Regions from separate parts of the Homo sapiens genome. Here region 2 is linked to region 1. The links are contacts of gene promoters, found by promoter capture Hi-C in blood cells and fetal thymus (Javierre and others, 2016). All regions are on one chromosome and are shown on one strand. Each heading gives the region's core, a stretch centred on a gene start or on the middle of the fragment in contact. The rest is flanking DNA. Distances are from core to core; before and after follow the strand shown.

The links. Contacts are between HindIII fragments. The CHiCAGO score rates a contact against its expected background, and 5 or more counts as called.
Region 2: a contact is called between a fragment that was not itself captured here and the fragment with the promoter of KRT12 in region 1, in 2 of 17 cell types (endothelial precursors and M0 macrophages). The highest score is 6.4, in endothelial precursors.

The regions. Positions count from the first base shown.
Region 1 is chr17:40,865,217-40,870,711 of GRCh38, reverse strand. It overlaps KRT12 (keratin 12), which reads left to right and starts at 3,489. Exons shown (of 8, transcript NM_000223.4): 1 at 3,489-4,092; 2 at 4,475-4,557. The coding sequence starts at 3,526. All of the region lies in intron 1 of LOC105371777 (a long non-coding RNA gene), which reads right to left. The HindIII fragment of the contact is 7,860 bases long and covers 1-5,495 here.
Region 2 is chr17:41,285,345-41,290,839 of GRCh38, reverse strand. No RefSeq gene overlaps it. Among named protein-coding and RNA genes, the nearest start is that of KRTAP9-7, 12 kb to the right of the region's middle. The HindIII fragment of the contact is 390 bases long and covers 2,470-2,859 here.

The sequences.
Region 1 (5,495 bases), core at 2,240-4,739:
TGTAATAATATAAAAGGAAGTTGTAATTGGATTTCACCACGGGTTCATCATTTGTGTCCCTGGGAAAGTGGCTTTTTTTTTTTTTTTTAATAAAAAGTCAAAACAGTCCTTCCATTTGCCAGAATTGATCCCAGGTATTCCTTATGGAGGTTTGCCATGGGCTTCAGGTGTGACCCCTCGGCATCTGTCCCCTAATCCCCAGTGGGCACTGCTAGTTCTGGCTCAGGACTCTTCACAATGGAAGAACCTCAGCTTCGGGGAGGCTGTAATCAGGGAGATAATATCTGGATATGCAGGTGGACAGGAGGCAGCAGTAAACTACGGGGAATCTAGGCTACAGGTCTGGAATTCCTCAGGAGTCAGTCTGTACTCTACAAGGCAAAACAAGTGCTAACCATTGAGACTAACTCCAATGAGATAAAGGCCAGCGAAAGAAGCATTCTCAGGAGAAAGGGCTCCCAGGGAAGGTGGAGCAGCAGGGGCTGCAGAAGATCCCTCTGCAGGGAGCACCTGCACACTGGCACCAAGCAAAGACATCTGAGTGCATGTTTCTGGGTGTGTGTGTGTGCATGCATGTGTACATTAGAATGAGAGTAACATCTGAATGTGTCTACATTGTGAATCCACGAATACTTAAATTATTATACTTTGTAGCTTGCCTTTATATTGATACACTCTTTTTTGATTTTGGAAAAATTTCCTCATACATAACACACATTAATGGCCCAGCAGCTTGATTTATCAAGAGAGAAATCAATAAGCATATATTGAATGCTGACTTTGTCCAAGACACTGGGCAAATGGACTAGACATTGAAGAATGGAGGTAACAGCAGACCTAGTACTTGAATACTTTCATGTTGGCTTGGTTGAAATTCTTGATTTAATTTTCAAAAAGACCACATCATTTTGACATAATTCAAGTTGTGTAACAGTTACAGGCTTACTTCACATATTATCTCTGCTATTGAAGTGTCCAAAAAAATCAGGTTATTGTTTTAGTAAGAGAAACAAAAAGTATTGCATATGCTTATGGAAAAACCTTAAACAATAGCCACATATTTGCTAATTTTTATGGTTGATTGTTTGTATTAAGTAAGTAACATCTCAATGATCTCACAGGTATCCAATAATTTTGCTGAGAAATTAATCTTTACCAGATAGATTCAATCTCCACTTTAAAATGTATAGAAAGCCTCCTTTTTGGGAATTAAACATTGGGCACTCATGGACATATAGAATGCCAACAATAGACACTGGGAATTACTGTGGGGAGCAAAGGTTAAACAACTATTGGGTACTATGCTTACTACCTGGGTGATGAGATGAGTCGTACCCCAAACCTCAGCATCATGAAATATACACACGTAACAAACCTGCACATGTACCTCCTGAATCTAAAATTAAAGTTGAAATTTTTTAAAAAAAATCCAGTAGTGGTAAATAAATAAAAATAAAAATCTTCCTTTTTATGAAAGGTATGTATTATTAAATCAAATAAGAATTCAATTTTATTTTAGAAATCTAGAATACTTGTGATATTTTTAAAACTTTTCCTTAGAATAAAATAAAACGCAGAATCCAAATATACCAAATTGAAAAGGAGTTTTAGTGGCCATCTATAAGCAAACAGAGGTCCCTGATGGAGAAATGAAGGCCCTGTTTCCCACGAGGTAGGAAATGTATCATTACAATGATTTTAATGTATTTTATTTCAATAAATCCATTCTAGTCAAAATACATATATGTCTATAGCACACACAGTCAGTGTATACCTTATTAATAAAATTCAGTATAAACATCTTTGCAAAAAAACTGTTATTTACACCCAGAAATTTTATTTCCTATCATCAAATACAGAGCAAACTGAATTTAGAAATCTGAATCCAACAAAGGATTTCGAAGAATCCACAATCCATGTTCTGTACCCAATTATTAAAGTTCAAGTGATAGATAAGTATATAATCTTAAGAGAAAAGCAGATTATAAAATCTTATATTGAATCAATTATGTTCAAAAATGTATATAAAATACTCATATATACATACATCTTCTTTATGTTTTCTGCATCTTCTAAATTTCCTACTATAAATACATAGAGAGCTATATTTAAAAAAAAACTATAGAACTATTTTGCAATGAGACATGTAGAGAATTGGGCCATCATCTCAAAGAAAACATGTAAAAGAAAAATCCTTATTCCTTCTTATCCAATCAAAATGCTCACAATTTAAATTCCTAAGGGAATTCCACCACCCTGGAATTGTACTACTCGGTTTCCAGGTATCTACAACTCTCTCTGAAAGCAGGCTTCTTTCAAGTTAATGCATTTCCTGTAAGAACGTTAGTTCTCATGTTCAATATATAAGCCATATCAATTTCAAAGATAAATAATATACCAAACAAGAAAGTATAAGAACTTTATGTCTTAAAAATTAAAGATACTGGATATAATTCCTTGAAGCACGCTTTGCAAAGTTTTCACAACAAAGTTTAAAATATAACATTTAATTTATTCTATATTGTAAAATTTATCCTTTTTCATCATAGCAGTCAACTGAAATGGTTCACTAGCCTCTTAAACTTGGGGTTTTAATCATTTCTTAATTTGAACTGTGTTTCCACTTTCTCCTTATTGATAATGGCAACAAAATCTGAAGTGTTTACACAATCCATTCAACTAGTCAACACATTTATTGAGCAACCATTACAGGCAATATCTGTTGAAGGAATAAACATAGTAAATGCTGAGTGTAGAGCAGTGAGCAATCAGACAAGGTAAAACTGCTAAAACAACTATAATAAACTCTACTATAAACAACTGTACTCAAAAATAGTACTTTTCCAAGTTGAAGAATAAGAGGGAAAAGAAACATGCAACATCCTAAAGCCAAGGTTTTAAAATCCTTGAAAATGCAAATTCTAGTATCCATCTGGAAAATATATTTATTCTCCACCTTTCACCAGTGCATTTCACAGCTGCTTCTGAAGCTGTATTCCACTAAAAGGTATACTTGATCATGACTGGATTTTACATTGGATTGGTTTTTCCAAAGGAAACAAATGGTTTACACTGGATTTTCCAAAGGAAACAAACAGAAAAGATCAGGGAAGAACTTAAAAAAGCATAAGGTTTAGGAAGAAGTATTTAACGTATCCATTCAGCAATCGCTCATTATCTTCCTACTGTGAACAAGACGCTAGGCAGTGCTGGGAATACAGGCAACAGACTAATTTGGAGAAGAAAAATTCCTTATGACAAGCAGACTCTACTCCACCCAGCTTTCTTTTTCATATAACAAATATTTAATGGAAATGATTATTCGATTATTTCTGTATCAATGAATTTTCATTATACATAAATCATTCACTTGTTGAGCTGGCCAAAAACCTGGGGGGAGGATCCAATTTTGAGTGGAGAAAGTGAACTTTTCAACTGCGACACCCATCTTGCAGCCTATATAAGTTTAGCTTTCTGGCTTGCTGGCACAACTTCCTCTCCAGTTGTGGCCACCTTCCCCAGGCCATGGATCTCTCCAACAACACCATGTCACTCTCAGTGCGCACCCCCGGACTGTCCCGGCGGCTCTCCTCGCAGAGTGTGATAGGCAGACCCAGGGGCATGTCTGCTTCCAGTGTTGGAAGTGGTTATGGGGGAAGTGCCTTTGGCTTTGGAGCCAGCTGTGGGGGAGGCTTTTCTGCTGCTTCCATGTTTGGTTCTAGTTCCGGCTTTGGGGGTGGCTCCGGAAGTTCCATGGCAGGAGGACTGGGTGCTGGTTATGGGAGAGCCCTGGGTGGAGGTAGCTTTGGAGGGCTGGGGATGGGATTTGGGGGCAGCCCAGGAGGTGGCTCTCTAGGTATTCTCTCGGGCAATGATGGAGGCCTTCTTTCTGGATCAGAAAAAGAAACTATGCAAAATCTTAATGATAGATTAGCTTCCTACCTGGATAAGGTGCGAGCTCTAGAAGAGGCTAATACTGAGCTAGAAAATAAAATTCGAGAATGGTATGAAACACGAGGAACTGGGACTGCAGATGCTTCACAGAGCGATTACAGCAAATATTATCCACTGATTGAAGACCTCAGGAATAAGGTAAGATCTCTTTTGGAGGCGCTTTGGGAATTTTTTTTTTCCTTTTTACCATTACAATGTTTTACAGTGATAATCACCTACAACTTTGATATTTTCCAATTTAGCTGTACTTGCAGCAATTTTCTCATCCCAGGTTGTTTCACTCCACTTTATCATTTACTAAGAAATGATTGTATTTCCATTATCTTTCTGTAGGAAATCTGCATTTCTTTACTTCTCAATATTATTTTATACAGATATTGTCTTAGAAAAATGAAACTGTCTTAAACTCTAAATAAAACAGCATTTAATATCACCATTTTCACCTTTGTGTCAAAAATATATTTGTATAATACTAGTCTTTTAGGGCTTCAATCTTGTGTGTGTCCCTCTCTTTTGCCAGATCATTTCAGCCAGCATTGGAAATGCCCAGCTCCTCTTGCAGATTGACAATGCGAGACTAGCTGCTGAGGACTTCAGGATGAAGTGAGTCGAATAAACTGAAGATCATGGGCGTGTCCCACCATGTCTTCTGTCCTACTGTCCTGCCTTCATTGATATAAAATCTTCTGAAGTTCACATACTCCATATATTTACTGTTTTGGTAAATTCACATAGGGTGTTCTAGAAAGTAATTAGAATCTAATGCAATTCAGATTAAATGTCCTTAAATTATAAGTTACTTAAACCCAGGGCTATGGATCACGATATTTGTAGTGTGCTATTGACTCAACTCATGATGTGACTGACACCATAATCCTACCAGTGTCCTAAACCTCAATTTTCTTTTTTTGTTTTTTGTTTTTTGTTTTTGAGATGGAGTCTCGCTCTGTCACCCAGGCTGGAGTGCAGTGACGCGATCTCGGCTCACTGCAACCCCTGCCTCCCAGGTTCAAGTGATTCTCCTGCCTCAGCCTCCCGAGTAGCTGGGATTACAGGCGGCTGCCACCGTGCCCAGCTAATTATTGTATTTTTAGTAGAGACGGGGTTTCACTATCTTGGCCAGGCTGGTCTCAAACTCCTGACCTCATGATCCACCCGCCTCTAAACCTCAATTTTCAATGTATCAACCATTGTTTTCCTGATGACACATACAATGGAAAGATTAACCATGTACTAATTTTTATATTCCTTCCTCCTTTTCCATGCTCAACTCTCCCAGATATAGGTAAGAAATACTAATTTCCTTTTTGCTTCACAAAATTTCTACACAGGAAGTTGCAATGGCCATGGTTCTGAACCTGTAAAATCTTAGTCAAAGCCACTAAAGAAGTATCAGTGTTTTAAGTTAAATCATGAAGAACGTTAAGCAAAAAGAGTAACTTATTTTCAACGGCTTTTAGAAATTCCACTTAGAGAGGGGCTGCTGCTATTTACAGCCACGGCAGCCAGCCAAAGGGAAAATTATTCCCTGGGATGCTGTG
Region 2 (5,495 bases), core at 1,415-3,914, 420 kb before region 1:
TACTGCTTATTATGCCCTAATCTTGGTTTTCTCTTTCTCTTTACAGATGGTTGGTTACTATTCTCATTAGAAAGACTGAAGAAAAGGCTGGGCACAGTGGCTCATGCTTGTAATTCCAGCATTTTGGGAGGCTGAGGCGGGTGGATCATCTAAGGTCAGGAGTTCAAGACCAGCCTGGCCCATGTGGTGAAACCCTGTCTCTACTAAAGATGAAAGAAAGAAAGAAGGAAAGAAAGGAAGAAAGAAAGAAAGAAAGAAAAGAAAGAAAAGAAAGAAAGAAAGAAACCGGGCATGGTGGGCACCTGTAATCCCAGCTACTTGGGAGGCTGAGGCAGGAGAATTGCTTGAACCCAGGAGGTGGAGGTTGCGGTGAGCCGAGATCGCACCATTGCACTCCAGCCTGGGCAACAGGAGCGAAACTCTGTCTATTAAAAAAAAAAAAAAGACTAAAGAGAAATAAGAGGAGCGTTGATTTCTATATCGCAAGCACAGTACAAGATTATCAGTACAAAGCAATAGGCCTTTTCCTGTTTAATGGCATACTCACTTTGTTTACAACCATTTCATTAAAAAACACATTTTCACCATGTTTTCTGCTGTTTTGTTTTTGTTTTTGTTTTTGTTTTTTTCCAACCAAAAAGCATCTGGAGCTTCTTTCATTCTTCTCATGGACTCCTACCATCCCTGTTTAATGACTTGTTCACGAATCTTTCTTCCTAAGGCTAAACCTTTGAAGTTGTAGCTATGCAGTTATTTTTGATCTACAAAAATGGAAACTTCATATGGCTCAAACTCGTATTCTCTACTTGGCCTTTATTTTTTATTTTTTTAAGTAGAGATGGGGTTTCACCACGTTGGCCAGGCTGGTTTTGAACTCCTGACCTCAAGTGATCTGCCTGCCTTGCCCTCCCAAAGTGCTGGGATTACAGGCACAAGCCACCACGCCTGACCTACTTGGACTTTTTCAATCAAATCCCAGCCCATAGCTCCTTATAACTCCCTCTGGCATCTTTATAGTATACTGAAAAGTATTTTAAAAGGCCTTAGGATACTAATCACACACAGTAAAGTATTTTAAAAAGAATTAAGTCAACATAAGCCATCTTTTCTCCCAGTGTCTATTAGAATGAAATTTCCCCTGTCATTTTTCTGATTGTTTCCCTATCTATTTAATAACTAGGGTACACGTCAGACTTGTCCTGAGAAGTTCCATTCCTGAGGAAAAGCTATGCATGATTGTCTTATTTTGGAAATCTCAAATGTGGGATTCGTGTAATGGGCTTTGATAAAGGATGTTAAGGGGCAAAGTTAAGGCAGCCTTGTAAAGGTCAACTTGGAAACTAAATATCAGTAGGGAGTTATCTCAGTGGCTATAAGTTAAGACAACAGAATAAAAACTGATATTTGAGACATAAAAATGGCCCAAAAGATGGGTGTAATGAGCCCATGAGTCCCCAGTATAACATGAAACTTGCCCATCTGCGTGGTGTACGGCATTTGGTGTTACTCATGTTGGTCTCATCAGTTTGCCCACCTAAATAAATTCATCTTACAACAATAGTTCTATAACATCTAGAAGTAAGTTCCCTCCTGTAGCCCACTTCATCAGAAACTTCTTGGCAACACCTGAACCTAGCTGGAACTGGAAAAATATTTGATGGTAGTGATTTCCTGATAAATAGTCTAGAGCTGTTGCAAACAAAATCCAAGGATTGCTCTTTTTAGACACAGTCTTGCTCTGTCGCACAGTCTAGAGTGCAGTGGCTTGATGTTGGCTCACTGCAACCTCCGCCTCCTGGGTTCAAGCGATTCTCCTGCCTCAGCCTGCCGAGTAGCTGAGATTGCAGGTGCGTGTCACCACACCCCACTAATTTTTTGCATTTTTAATAGAGACGGGGTTTCACCACATTTGTCAGGCTGGTTTTGAACTCCTGACCTCAAGTGATCCACCCACCTTGGCCTCCCAAAGTGCTAGGATTACAGGTGTGAGCCACTGTGCCTGGTTAAAGGGTTGCTGTTTAAATGAACTATTTGCTTATGCTCTAAGTCAGCATGGATGGGATCCATAGATCTTTCCCGAAGTCTTAAAAATTAGTCTCTTGACTTAGTGGCATGGGAATAGATGTGAAAGAACTTTGTTTTTTTAAAAATATTAATTAATTAATTAATTTTTGAGACAAAGTCTTGCTCTTTCACCCAGGCTGGAGTGCAGTGGCGCGATCTCAGCTCACTGCAAACTCTGCCTCCCAGGTTCAAGTGATTTTCGTGCCTAAGCCTCCCGAGTAGCTGGGAATACAGGTGCACACTGCCAAGCCTGGTTAATTTTGTATTTTTAGTAGAGACGGGTTTTGCCATGTTGGCCAGGCTGGTCTCGAACTCCTGACCTCAAATGATCCTCCTGCCTTGGCCTTTCAAAGTGCTGGGATTACAGGTGTGAGCCACTGTGCCAGGCCAAAATGGGAAAAAGCTTTGTAAAATATAAAATATCCTTTAAATTTAAGAGCTTATGAAGGATATACTGCACACATAATCTAGGTCACGAAAGGATATGCAAGATGAGTATAGATTACTAGGTGATAAATTGGGAAATGCCTTAGTTGCAAAGAAGATAATTCAAATTATAAATACAATGAAGAAATGTGCAGGAAAGATATTTTAGAGGTGGCAAAATTAACCAGTTATTAAGACAATCAGCAGAGGTGGTGGACAGGGATGGTGAATCTCATGCATGTCCAATTTCTAGTGATACTCATTAGTTAAATCCAAACCCTCACTAGTGGCCATGAAGTCCAATGTTTCTTTAAAAAGGCAGTAAGGACCAATGAAGATTTTTTTCCTTGTCCATAGTTTAGTCAAGCTTCTGAACCTTCTCATAGGCCCATGGGTGCACTTCCTTGTAAAATCCAGTTTTGTAAAATTTTAGCAAAGAGCCCTGCTAAATAGGTTTAGCAAGAACTCCCCATCCTCGATATCTGATCACCCTTAATAGCGGATCAGATCTCTTATCTGCCACCATTCTCCAAGTGATGTTTGATCACCCTCGCCTGTCTTCAGCAAGAGCACTTTTAGGTCAGTTTAGCCAAAATTTCCCTACTGGTGATGCTTCCTCTTAGTAATTTTCCATCCACTGACCGCCACCCTGCTCCTTGGCTGTAAATTCTCACTTGCCCATGCTATGTTAGGAGATGAGTCCAATCTCTGTCTCCCAATGCAAGACCCTGTTATGGTGGTTCCTTTGTTTACTGCAGTGTTCCTGAATAAAGTCTCCCTTACCAGGCTTTCACAAGTGCCATTGAATAATTTTTTTTTTAACAAGACTATGATGAATTTTTAAAAGCCAAATCCCTATTGTTTCCCTGATAACATATTATTTCACCAGAAAAATAAATATAAGAAATTCATTTTAAATGTATCTCAAACCATCAGAAAAGGGCTTAACCTTATTGAACTGAGCTACTAGGAAAGAGGAGGAAAGAAGAAGAGTGGAAACCATCGGTCATTCAGTGCAAGCATGTCCGGCTGTCACCAATAAGCTAGCTGTACCTGTCTTAGGACAGAGCTGTATGAAGGAAGTTAATATTTACCAGTTAAAAGAAAAACGAAAGAGGAAAACAGTGATTCAGCACTAAACAGAATTAAGAGTCAGTCATTTGAAATATAGAAAGCCCTAGAAATACCATTACAAACAACAATAATAACAATAAGCCCCCTATTGTATAATAACAAATTGTGCAATAGGTAAAAGATAGATTGTTTAAAGTCTTCTTGGATGTTGTAAGTTATTTTCAGGGCCAAAAAGGAAAAAACTGCTCTTGCAATTCAAGTTCGGGTATATATTTTGCAAATGCTGGCATGCTCAATGCTTCCTGAAGGAGAGGGAGCTATCCTTATTTTGATCAGTTCAGATTGAATGAAAATTTTCTCTGATGCTAATATAGATCCAGTCTCCCAAATTTTAGGTTCCCCACGATTCTTCAAACATCACCAATAAGAGTTCAATGTTCTTGGCTGGGTGTGGTGGCTCACACCTGTAATCCCAGCACTTTGGGAGGCCAGTGTGGGCCTCCCAAAGATCATGAGGTCAAGAGATCGAGACCATCCTGGCCAACATGGTGAAACATGGGCATGGTGGCGGGCACCTGTAATCCCAGCTACTCAGGAGGCTGAAGCAGGAGAATTGCTTGAACCTTGGAGGTGGAGGTTGCAGTGAGCCGAGATCGCACCACTGCACTCCAGCCTGGTGACAGAGCGAGACTTATCTCAAAAAAAAAAAAAAAAAAAAAAAAAAAAAAGAGCTCAGTGTTCAATGTTCTCACTTGGAAGATGTCTCAGTATCTGAGAAGTAGTTTGTCCACGGTCAGGAAACTAGAACTCATTTAAAGAAACTAAATTCTCTCCTATGCTGTTTACATCCATTTGGGGCCACTATTCCCCTTTCCAGCTGTCCTTCTACACAATTCTGTTCAAATATTATTCTTTGAATATATAAGTAATATTAAGAAGTCCTCCTTTCTTATGTCTTAATCATAATTTTACCAGTAGATCTTAAATGAAATCCCTTATATTCTTATCATCACCTATTTGTGTAGGTACAGTTCTTTCATAGTGGACTTAATGTTGGTCTTAGTGAGTGGTTTGTTTTATATATTAAGTATACTTATGCTTTGCTATATTTATTACTATTGGGCACTTAAAGGGGAATGCTTGGAAAAAACTGGGTTGATTTTGCTAGGAATCAACCTTAAAGGGCAGAAGATTATTGAAATTTGACCCTTTCCATCTTAATCTTTGTTCCAAGCAGGAATCTGACTGGGGCTGAAGAGCTTGGTTTTTACCTTGTCCTTATCTTGCATAAGGAATGCTTTTGTTTAGAAAGAGGATCTGAAGGTTTTCTGGTCTGGGACAGGCCACAGCCACTGTGGAACGCAGTGATAATAAAGGATGGATAAGGCTTGCATGCTTTCCTTAGCGAGTTTATACAATCTATCCAATTTAGGCTTTCTTGATTTATATTCTAGAATAATGTCTATATTTGTTTATTTAAGTGGGAATCATTTTAATTTTATTTCTGATTTTTAATCCTATATTTTCTGCATTAGTTATCTCCAAACCTACAATTTAATTAAATTTATCCCAGCGTTTGATCTTAGAATATAACATTCATTCTTGTTTCCTGCATATTCACAAGAAAAATCCCAAGCTGTGTTATCTGAACCATCTGTCAGAAGAGGTTCCAAGGAGAAGGTGTCCAGTGATGAAAGAGCCGAGTTTTCCCTATTTTGAATGTAGGAAACACAGGCTGGTTTTTCTGAAATTAATCCCTGTTCTTTCCATAACAATATTACATTGCACTAGAGGGCCTAACCTAGGGATTGTCTTTTATGTGTAATTCAAATTCTAAGAAGAATAAATTAATTATAGTCCAATCACCACTATAACTCACAGCAGGGAGGAAGGAAGAAGTATGTGGTGTGTCACTCATAACAGGTTGGTGA